2 separate regions of the Homo sapiens genome follow, and region 2 is linked to region 1. Evidence: promoter capture Hi-C in human tissues and cell types (Jung and others, 2019). All regions are on one chromosome and are shown on one strand. The core of a region is centred on a gene start or on the middle of the fragment in contact, and the rest is flanking DNA. Distances in the headings are between cores, read along the strand shown.

Region 1 (5,303 bases), core at 951-3,450:
ACTGGTCTGGGCCCGTGAGCAGTACCTGGTACCCCTTCATGCGGCAGAAGCGTAGGCACACCTGGACCGTGAGCTTCGTGGAGGTGCCGCTGGGGCCGCTGAGGGCTGGGGGTGCCCCTGAGTCCACAAAGCATCCCAGGTAGCCTGGCACTGAGGGGGCAGAGTCAGACTTCCGTGACTCCGAAAACAACCCTCCTCCCAGATGCAGCAGCGTTCCCACCTCTGTCCAGCCGCGCTACTCACTGTGACAGGAGGGGATGTCGCAGTAGCGCCAGTAGATGCCCTCCTCTGTCTCAGCCACGTAGCACCACGGCTGCACGTCACCGTCTGGGTTACTGCGGGTGGGAGGGAGGTGGTGGGGCTCCCACCACCCCAAGAATAGCAAACCCAGGCCCGGCCCCGCAGCCTATGCTCAAAGTGGCCTTCAAGGCTCTGTGCCTGTGAGCGGCTGTGCTGCCTGCTGTACACCCACAAATTCCAGTTTTGTCTACGCAGAACTCTGCCTGATGAAGGAACTGGACGTCGACTTCCGAGTGGACAGCGGGAAGTCATTAAAGGGGACTTGAGAGCTGTTTTTAGGCTTCAGCTGTTGCTAGACTTGACTCCATATATGAGGACTTTGAGGCCATCTGTATTCTTCACCCCCACCCGGCATGGGCCTCAGCCACTTCCGTCCCTCAAACCCCACTTTTTTTTTTTTTTTTTGAGACGAGTCTCGCTCTGTCACCCAGGCTAGAGTGCATTGGCGCGATCTCTGCTCACTGCAAGCTCCGCCTCCCGGGTTCAAGCGATTCTCCTGCCTCAGCCTCCTGAGTAGCTGGGATTACAGGCGCCCGCCACCATGCCCCGCTAATTTTTTGTATTTTTAGTAGAAATGGGGTTTCACCATGGTAGCCAGGCTGGTCTCGAACTCCTGACCTCAGATGATCCGCCTGCCTTGGCCTCCCAAAGTGCTGGGATTACAGGCTGAGCCACCGCGCCTGGCCTCCAACCCCACTTAAAAGCAGAAGTGAGCTCCTGAGCTTTGCGGCTCTCCTCCCGCTGGGTCCATCCTGCCTCAGACCGTAGCTGTGGCTCTGAACCCCAAAATAAGTTGTATGACAAGAGCCCCACTCTGACAAGGCCCCGCCCATTCGGCCCCCGCTCTGACCAGGCCCCGCCCATACGGGTCCTTTGAGTGCCCAGGTCCGTTTCTCTCCTGGCCCTGAACTGGAGCTCTGCAGAAATTGTTCACCTGAGGAGGATCCCTTTTGCGCCAGGGTTCCGCGCGCCCCGCCCCGCCCCGCCCCGCCCCTCATTCTGGCCCCGCCCCCAGGTTCTCCAGGAGGCTGGGCTGCCAGTCCACGGCAGACCTCCACCCCGCCCGCACGGAGGCCCCGCTTCGGGCCATCCCTGCAATGGTGAGCCCAGCCTCGCCCCCAGCGCAGGCCCCGCCCCTCACCGGCAGAAGTTGTGCGCGCCCAGCCCCCAGCGGCCGTGGGGGTCGCTGGCGCTGCTGTAGCTGTGTTGCTGCGTCTGGTCCCAGAAGAGGCACGGGCGGCCCGCCCCGCGCGGGCCAGTGCGGTTCTGGTGGCCGCGGTAGTCAGCCCCATTCACCTGGAAGCATTCGGACAGGCCTGCACGGCAAAGGCAGGGCCTGGGGAGGTCCGGACCCACGCCGGGCATCCTCGCGCCCCTACGCCACCTCCCGCCTGGGTCCCCAGCCAGCGACCCCGCACCCGCCCCTGCAGGAGCCCTCGGGCTGCTCAGCTGCTCCGGCCACCTGCTCTGTCCCCCTCCCTAGCCTTGGGGGCCTGGCCCTGGGGGCGGAGGCCGAGGAAGGGGTGGTGAACACGGCCCGACAGCCGTGCGGGGACTTACCTGGACTGTGCAGGCTCCCAGCCGAGGCCCCACGCGGCTGCAGCAGCGGGAGGAAGAGGAGAAAGAGGAAGCCCTGCAGGGCTTGTGTCCCCATCGCTCTCAACCAAGGATAGGTCACCCTCGCCCGGACACGGCCCGGGCTGCCCCCGGGGTCGCTTCGGGGTCTCCCAGGAGACCTAGGGGGCGTTGTCCTCTGACAGTCTCCCCTCGTCCGACTCTGAGCCGCGCTTTCCGTCTGGGGTGGGTAAATCTCTCCTGGGGGTCTTTGCCTCCCAGGGCCTCTGCCCCTAGAGGCGTCTCTCTGTCCCTGTCCCTACCCGGGTCTCTCCGGGGGGAATCTGGCCGGGGGCGTTCTCAGTCTCTGTCTCAGCGAGCTCTGGGCGGTGCCTCAGCCTCTACGCCCGCCCCCTCCCACTGAGCCTAGCTCTCGGCGTCTCCCTCGCCCAGGTCTCCAACGGGCTGACTCCTGCCCGCCTCGCATCCCTCCGTGGGTCCCTCCCCCTGGGTCTCTCCCTCCCCCCATGGGAGGCCGGGAAGCCCCGCCCAGCACTGGAGCGGAGGCAGCAGGTCCAGACGCCTCCCACGCCCGTTCCCCCGACCCCGGGCGTCCAGCGCTTCCCGGCCCCCTCTCCCTCAGGTCGGTGCCGGTTCAAGTGGGAAGGTGTGGAGGGGGACAGGCGGGGCAAGCGGACGGAAGGCCCTTAAAATGGGAGATACAGAACCCCCTCACGTGGTCGCACGCGCCCCAGGACACCCGGAATGTCCGAGTTACAAGCGCCCTCCTCCCAGTGCACGCACGCGCTCGCACTCTCTCCCATTCATTGCCAGGCGCTCACGCGCACACTTTCTTCGGATCCGCACGCCCCTCCCGCCCCTGGTCCAGATGCCGCTGGCCTGACGGAGGAAGCTCCACTCCCTGCCCCCGCGCCCACGAGACAGGCGGGAGTCGTGGACGCTCAGTCCGGGACAGGCAGGGGCAGCTGGTGTCTGGGGAGAAAGGCAGCTGCGCCCCAGGTCCCAGTCTGTCCCCTCCTCCTCCCCCTGCCCCGCCCTTCCCTGGGACCCCCAGCCCAGACTCTCCCGAGCCTTCACACTGCAGTGGAATTCCCCCAGCCGTGCCCCCCACCTGGCGGGGGAGGGGGAGGGGAGCAGGCCCAGGCAGGCGTGGGGGGAAATTCCCCGCCCCCTCCCCCTGGGCCCGACTCCTCCGAGTCCTCTGATCTCCCAGCGCCACCCGCCCGCTGCCCCCAGGGCTTGGGGGGAGGCCAGCGCAGGTGCGTGGGAGGGCGGAGGCGGGGGCCGGGGGAAGGAACTGGTGGGGGCCGGGCGCCCAGAGCGGCCCCGCCCCGCCCAGACCTCTTTGCCCCTCAGTCCAGCCTGCCCAGCCCGCACCAGGCCCTCGCCAAGCTGTCGAGCCCAGGCCGACCAGTCCCCGCCCTGCAGCCCCCACACCGTCTCTGCCCCGGTGTCGATGGAGAAGAAAGATGGGGTTCAGGGAGGTTCTGTCAGGCCCAGGCACCCACTGCGGTGCTGGGACCCGCGAGGATCTTCCAGCTGGCGCCTCACGCGAGTGTGCTCTGGAGGAGGGGCGTGGAGCCGAGGTGGGGGCATTTGAAGGAGATGGACTTGCTGAGACTCTAGGCCAGGGTCCTGGTCGCCTCCTCCGGGAGCCCTCTCAGAGGCCAGGCTGGCCCGGCTCACTGAGCCCTGAGCTGGGGCCTCCAGCACCCACGGGCTCCCTGGAACCCAACTGCGCTTCCCGACGAGGGAGCATCCGGGACCACCTGTCTGCCCGGTTTCTCTTGGCGGGGGCTCAGTGAAGTCCTCCCGGGCTCCAGTCCACAGAGGATGTCCTAGGGGCAGGCCTGCACAATGGCGGTGCGTGGGGAGCTTCACCCCCACAGCCACAGCCATCTGAGGATGGGGCAAGGTGGCGACAGGGACAATTAAGGACTCTGTGCGGAAAGGGGGCCGGCTTGGGACGCTGGTGGAGGAATCAGCCCCTTCCCTTGAGAGAGTAGGGTCTGAAAGAACCGTCCCTCTGTCCCTGGCACTGTGACACCCGGTTCGGTTGGCCCAGGCCTGTCTCCTCCAGAGGGGGCAGGGGGTGAGAGGAAGTGGGTGCTCAGTGCTGAGGCTGGGGCACTGAGATGGAGTGGGGTGGAGTATCCCTGCGGCAAACTTCAGTCTCAGGTCACTCACGGAAACTTCCAGAACTAAGAAGCCCACCCCCCACCACTTCCCCAGCATTTGGCACTCAGGGCTCTGCAAGCAGCGGCATGTCTGCCCTCCTGACGCCCTGCGAGAGGGGACAGGCTCATCTCCCCATTCTGCAGATGGGGCGCAGAGGTGGTAACTGGGTGACTCGTGGGCGTCACCAGCTATTAAGCGTTGGAACTGGGCTTCAAGCTCCGCCTGGTCTGATCCAGGGGCTGGGCGCTGATTCATGCCTCCATGTCGCTTCCAGGGTCTCTGATTCTTCAGGGACCTCTGGGCACACAGAGATACTCTCTCACATGCTCTGAGGGGCTCCTCACCCCTCGAATGTCGTTGCCGCCAGCTGACACTTTGGAAGCAGGATCTCCAGCAGCCCATTTCACAGACAGGGAGACTGAGGCCAGACTGGGGCAGGGGTCGGCCTGGGGTCCCTAGGGCCTGACAGGCTTGGCATGTCATCTCTGAGGGAAGCAGATGCACAGGTGCAGATTGGCCACATGGGGGCGGCAGAGAGAAAGGAGCCAAAGAGGTAGGTGCAGAAGCAACCCAGGGGCCAGCCTGGCATTTCTCTCCTATGGGACATGGAACACAGGATTTGCCCTGCCCAAGTAGGGAGAAGGTGAGAAGTTGGGGGACCTGGGCAAGAGGAGGGACCAGGCCACTTTGCCCCAGTCAGCCCCCCAGGAAGGGGAGGAGCAGGCTCAGCCCTGCCCTTCTTAAGGCGGTGCAGGGTGGCCGTGTTTGAGCCCAGCCCTTTCCTGCCGGGAGCTCTGGGTCAGGGCCAGACCCGGTGCAGTCAGGACGCCTGGGTTCCACCTGGGGCTGCTCAGCTGCCCTTGGTCTTCTTGCTTTTTTTTTTTTTTTTTTTGAGACGGAGTCTTGCTCTGTCACCCAGGCTGGAACGCAGTGGCGCGATCTTGGCTCACTGCAACCTCTGCTTCCTGGGTTCAAGCGATTCTCCTGCCTTAGCCTCCCGAATAGCTGGGATTGCAGGTGGGTGCCACCACACCTGGTTAATTTTGGTATTTTTAGTAGAGACGGGGTTTTGCCATGTTGGCCAGGCTGGTCTCGAACTCATGACCTCAGGTGATCTGCCCCCCCACTCGGCCTACGAAAGTGCTAGGATTACAGGTGGGCGCCGCCACGCCTGGCTAATTTTTGAATTTTTAGTAGAGACTTTTTTTTTTTTCTTTTTTTAGACAGAGTCGCTGTCTTGTCGCCCCGGC
Region 2 (5,303 bases), core at 1,703-4,202, 130 kb after region 1:
TGGCTGTTGCATTAGATGATCGCTGGGTGTTTGGCTGTTGCATTAGATGATCGTTGGGTGCTTGGCTGTTGCATTACATGTGTTGCTTCCTGTGTCTCAAGTAGGATCAATTTCTCTCTGTGGATCATGGTCCCAAAGGACTGAAAACCCCGTCCCTGGAGGCCCCTGGAGCTCTGATCTTGGCAAGTGCCCATGTGGGCTTGGAGGCTTGGGAAGGGGACATGAAGAATGGGCCAGGTCCAGGGCTTGTACTGATTTCCTGTTGCTACTGTGACAAATTACCCCAGCCATCTGCATCTCCTGTCTTTGCTCATGTTGAGCCCTCAACCTGTAATCCCCTCCTCCCTTTGTCTCCACTTGGCCAATTGTCCTTCATCCTTTAAGACTTAGCTCAGACATTGCCTCCTCTAGGAAGACTTCCCTGAAGCACATCCCTCTCACCTCACCTCTGGGCAGGTGCCTACGCACAATGACCTGCATGTGTCCCCATCCATGCAGATGGCAAAGTGAACTGCCACTATCTGCCTCTGCACCAGCCCCCACCACAGTGTATACGCACTCAGCTGAAACCTGGCCTCTTCTTTATACCCCCAGTGCCAGGCGAGCCTGGTGAGGACACGGCCTTGGCAAATGTTTGCTGAGTGAATGGATGAGTGAGTGGCTTCCCTGAGGCCCCTTGAGCACTCAGAGAATCCCGGGACTGAGTGGCCAGCAGAGGCCCGCTGGGTGGGCCTGGGGTGAGGGACAGTGGGGAGTGGCGGCCTTGAAGCCTGACTCTTCAAAGATTGTGGGACTGGCACAGAGATCCACAGCACCTCTGAGGGGGTGGTGCTGCTCTCTTTCTGTCCTCGGCAGAGTCACCTTTGCCCTACCCCTCATCTCAGTTCACTGGGCTGCAGCACTGGGGACTTTGTCTCCAAGGAGCAGGGAAGGCTTTGGTTGTACCCCAGATCCAAGGACCAATCCTGGATGCACTGATTCTGCAGAACCTTTATTTATTGGTGGATTCAGATTCAGCGTCCCGACTCAGTTACTCCAGTACCATCAGCCACCACCACCCAGATGGCCTCAGCTCGGATGGCCCCATACCCCACCCTAGCGACCCACGGGTGAGTTTGCTGAGTATGTGAGATTAACTGGTGGCTCAGTGGTCGGCTCCTCTAGTGGATAATTCCATTCAAAGCCAATGCTCTTGATGCCAAGGAGTTGATACTGGCCATAGATGCCCACCAGCACCTGCCCCTCTTGGCTGGGGTAGGCAGAGGAGATCTGGCCATCAAGCTTCCCAAAATAGAAATAGCGGTCCTTGCTGGTGTACATGACCATACCCCGGAGGAAAGCTTGGAAGGCGACAAAGACTTTTGTGATGTATTCGCCTGGCTGCAGGGTGACTTCCTGGGTATTCCCACCTAAGGCTCCCAGTTTCACGTCCCAGGAGTCTCCAAGTTTCACCTGGACACTGGGAGAGAGGCAAAGCTTTGGACGTCCAGATCTGGGATGGCCCAGCACATCCCGGGTCCTCAGCGCCCCCATCCTCCTTCCCGGGATGCAGAGAGTCCAGCACCATCAGACTTTGGGTCCCTGACACAGACTCACTGGTCACCAACCCTGATTCTACCACTTTTGGGCCCTGTGATCTTGAGCTCGTTACCCAGCCTCTCCGGACTCAGTTTCCCCGTCTGCAAAGTGGGTGTGACTTTTGGGAGGAGTCACTGAGATCCTGGTGAGGAGAGCTGCGTGCAGCGCCAGGTCTCCGTGACCCAGAAGGCACCAGCTGCCGTCACTGTGGCCCACATATGAGCTGCCTCTGGCCGAGCCTGGACCTCCCGAGCCTTAGTCACTCCAAGCAGAGCAGCTCACAGGCCGAGGGGCAGGTGACTTCCCACACTCGCCAGCGCTTCCCTGACGGGGCTCATCTTCACCCCTCCCTCACCCTGGTGCTCTCCCAGGATGCACCCCTCCGGCTCGCCCCGCCCACACTCTGTCTCCTCTGCTATTGGGCTTCTCTCCCCTCTCCCAGGACCCCAGAACTTCTAAATGCAGGGCAAAAATCCATCCCAGACCTCCAGCAGAGACACTTCGATATTAAGGAAATGGCCCTGGACTTCTGCCTCTAACACTTCTGCGACTCATATTCAGTCAGTGGTCCACTCTGACCCTTACCTCCTGTCTTCTTTGACAGTAATCGGACAGACTTTCCCCTGACTTTCCTATCAGGCATGGGGACAGAGGGGCCATTTTTGGTTGAGTTGAGCTTGGGTTGAAGGGAGAAGGTAGGGAGGACGGTCTGACCGTCTCCGCTCCAGCCAGGAAGCATCAGCGGGAGCCAGGAAGCATCGACAGTAGCCAGGCATGTGTGGCAAAAGTGGCCACGGGTGCTTACCCCCTGCCCTGAGTTCCTGAAACTGTGGGATGGGAGGGGACATGGCGCTGGGCCCATGACCATAGCCCTACTCACCTTTTCACCAGGAGAAGACCTACAGACACCCGCAGCCCTGTGATTTCATGGTCGTAGTCTTCAGTGGTGCTGAAATACTTGCCTCCTCCAGGGCCATACATCTCTGAAGAAAAGAGAGACCCAAAGGGAAGAAAATCCCCATGCGGTGATATGGGGGTGACCTCTGCCAGAACAGGGGACCCCACCCCTCCAGGCAGACAGGATGGTTCTGTGACCAGAGTTAGTCTGGGACAAGGGCCGGGTGAGTCCCTGGCTCTCCTGGAGGGAGGCAGGGGAGATTGAGGGCAGACCCCACTGACTTACTCCCTGCCCAGGTGGGGCCCCCCAGGAGGGCAAGCGTGAGCAGCAGCAGCATGGCCTCTGGCCGGTGCATCCCAGGGCTCTGTGGGAAGAAGAGAGGCCTCCTGACTCCAAAGCAAGGGCCAGTGTGACCTTGCCGGGCCCCACCCATGGAGCCAAGCACCTTACCTCGCCTGTGACTGGGCGTCTGGTTGTGCCGGGCACCCTCCACATCGCCTTTATACTCTCCTGGGCCCCCTGGGCCCCCATCCAGAAGGAAGAAGCGAGGGGCCGCCAGGGGAACAGGAAGGAGCTGGCCGTGGGGCTCTTCCTGGGGGAAGGCCCAGGGCCGGCCTTGGGGAGGCTCCCGGATGTGCAGTATTTGCTGTCTTGGCTCTGCAGCCTACATAAACGAAGCTGAGAACAGTGACAGGCATTTCACAGTTATCTCTGGGATCTCTCCAGTCAGCACTGGCACCGACTTGAATGGCAGAGGTGGGGAGAGGCTGGCTTATCCAGCGCAGCCTGATGGCTTCCACCTGAGGGTGGCGGGTCAAGGGTCCACAGAAGCTCCGTGGGGCCCACTCCTGCCGTGGGCGACCTGGAGTCAGGGCCTCCTTCGGACTCAGGCAGCACCTGGTGCCTGGCAGCCTTCCTGGGACCCAGGCCGAGCTCGACGCGGGCCCTGAGAGAGCCTGAATGGATCACCCAGCCCTTTGTGTCCTGTGCCCTGTGCGGCAGGTGCACCAGGCACTGGCCCTCAAGGCACTGCCCTTAGAGGCTGCCCGGGTCTCTCCTCTGTGCTGTATCTGGGTGGAGCAGGTATGAGCCAGTGTTCAGGGACTCAGAGGCCATGGGAGGGAAGGACACCAAAGGTGCAGTCCATGCCACGATGGGAGGCAGAGGGCCTGGGGAGGGCGACCCCCCAGGCCGGTCCTTCCGAGGTGTCGGCCCTCATCTGGGCGGGAACTGGCGCTTCTCCAGGGCTCGGTCCCCGGGGCCCTGCTGGTTTTCTGTCTCACTCCTTTCCCCCTCAGCCCCTCTTGTCAGGGAGGCCTGTGCAGGCGGATGCCTGTGGGCAGAACGCCATCACCCTCAGACGCCAGCTGAGAAAAGCTCGTGTTCGGAGATGTCTCATCCCAAGGACCCTGAAGGACCCAGGGCACTGGGAAGGAACTGGAGTCTGCAGAAGAGTTGGGGTGTCGGATAAGGATCAGGGGAGAAGAGATAAAGGCCGTCAGATGCCCAAGCGAGGCGGGAACTAGGGGACAGATTGCAGCTCAAGCGCAGTTCCATGCGTGTCCTCAGGACACCTCTTGTGTGTGTTCCAGGGACTGAAGCTCCTCAGGGCCTGTGACCGCTGGGAACAGCCACAGGGCTGTGATCACCAACACAGGACCCTGGAGCCAGACGTGGGTCCAGCCGGGCTTCCTGACGTAGCGGGGCTGGGATCTGCGGGCTCTTGCTTCACCTCTCTGGGCCTCTGTTCTGCGGATAACAACAGAACCTCCCCCTGAGGGTGCTGTGAGGGCCTCCCTGGAGGGGAGGCCCCCAGGGCTGGTTGCCCTGAGCCTTAGACTTTATGCCTTGGGGGAGAGTGTACAACGCTAATTTTTGGAAAGAGCAAAAGCTGAGAAATCACGGGCGCATCCACCTGGAGATGCCGAGAGCCCGGGTGGTGGATCCCTGGCTGTGGAAAACTTGGGTGGAGAGGGTGGGGGACACTCCCACTGCACACCCATCCCCCAGGGAAACAGGCTGGAAGACCAGTGTGTGTGGACCCCACATGCTTCCCAGGAAGATGGGTGCAAAGAAGGGCTTTGTGCATGCACAGACTGGCTCTGGAAGTGCTGGCTCACCAGGAACGGGGACGCCGGTCTCATCGGGATGAGGGTGGGCAGGGGCTGCGGGAGGAGCAGGACTTTCACGACTTGAACCAGGTGCCTGCGCCAGGGGTGGCGAACTATGGCCCAGCCAACCACCTCCTGTTTCTGCCTCGCCCATGAGCAAAGAATGCTTCCTACATGTTAATATTCTTAGGAAACATTCAAAAGAACGATGTCTTGTGGTCCATGAAAATTCTTTGAAATTCCCATGCTCCAGTTCATTAAGTCAAGCGTCACTGGCCCACAGCCGCCGTGCGCTCATTGGCATGTGGCCTGTGGCTGTCTTCATGCTTGCACAGAAGCTCACATGGCTGTGACAGAGACCTGCAGCCCCTGAACCTAAAATTGTACCATCTGGCCCTTCACACAAAACGTCCGCCCACCCCTGGTTGATACCTATTCCCAAAGAACCACCAAAGCCCTGTCCGTGGTGCTGGATGGCAGAGTCAGGAAGGGGGCTCCCCGTGACACCCCAGCCCTGACGGGGCAGGAGCAGAGCAGCACATTAGCCTTGACACCTGGCCCTTCTTCTGGCACCTGCACCATCTCCCTGGAGGGGCTGGTGAGGGCTGGGTTCCCACTGACTAGTGTTTCAAGGTGAGGCCCCAGTTGCACCTCTCTGCACCCCCTCAAGCGCTCCTCTGATTTCAGGGGAAGCAGAGCCCAGGCCAGGGGAGGGT

The links. Contacts are between HindIII fragments. The study calls those that stand out against the background at their distance.
Region 2: a contact is called between the fragment with the promoter of ZG16B here and the fragment with the promoter of KREMEN2 in region 1, in 2 of the 25 tissues and cell types used here (lymphoblastoid cells and pancreas).

Annotation. Positions count from the first base shown.
Region 1 is chr16:2,961,172-2,966,474 of GRCh38, reverse strand. KREMEN2 (kringle containing transmembrane protein 2) reads right to left here and starts at 2,200. Exons shown (of 9, transcript NM_172229.3): 1 at 1,861-2,200; 2 at 1,442-1,616; 3 at 244-335; 4 at 26-150. The coding sequence starts at 1,954. RefSeq lists enhancers at 702-821, 424-1,383, 3,352-3,481, 2,968-3,965, 3,966-4,963 and silencers at 1,182-1,551, 1,622-1,871, 2,402-2,481, 3,032-3,161, 3,192-3,271. The HindIII fragment of the contact is 31,540 bases long and covers 1-5,303 here.
Region 2 is chr16:2,827,952-2,833,254 of GRCh38, reverse strand. ZG16B (zymogen granule protein 16B) reads right to left here and starts at 2,952. Exons shown (of 4, transcript NM_145252.3): 1 at 2,927-2,952; 2 at 2,762-2,840; 3 at 2,459-2,561; 4 at 979-1,459. The coding sequence starts at 2,813. The coding sequence ends at 1,096. The HindIII fragment of the contact is 17,999 bases long and covers 1-5,303 here.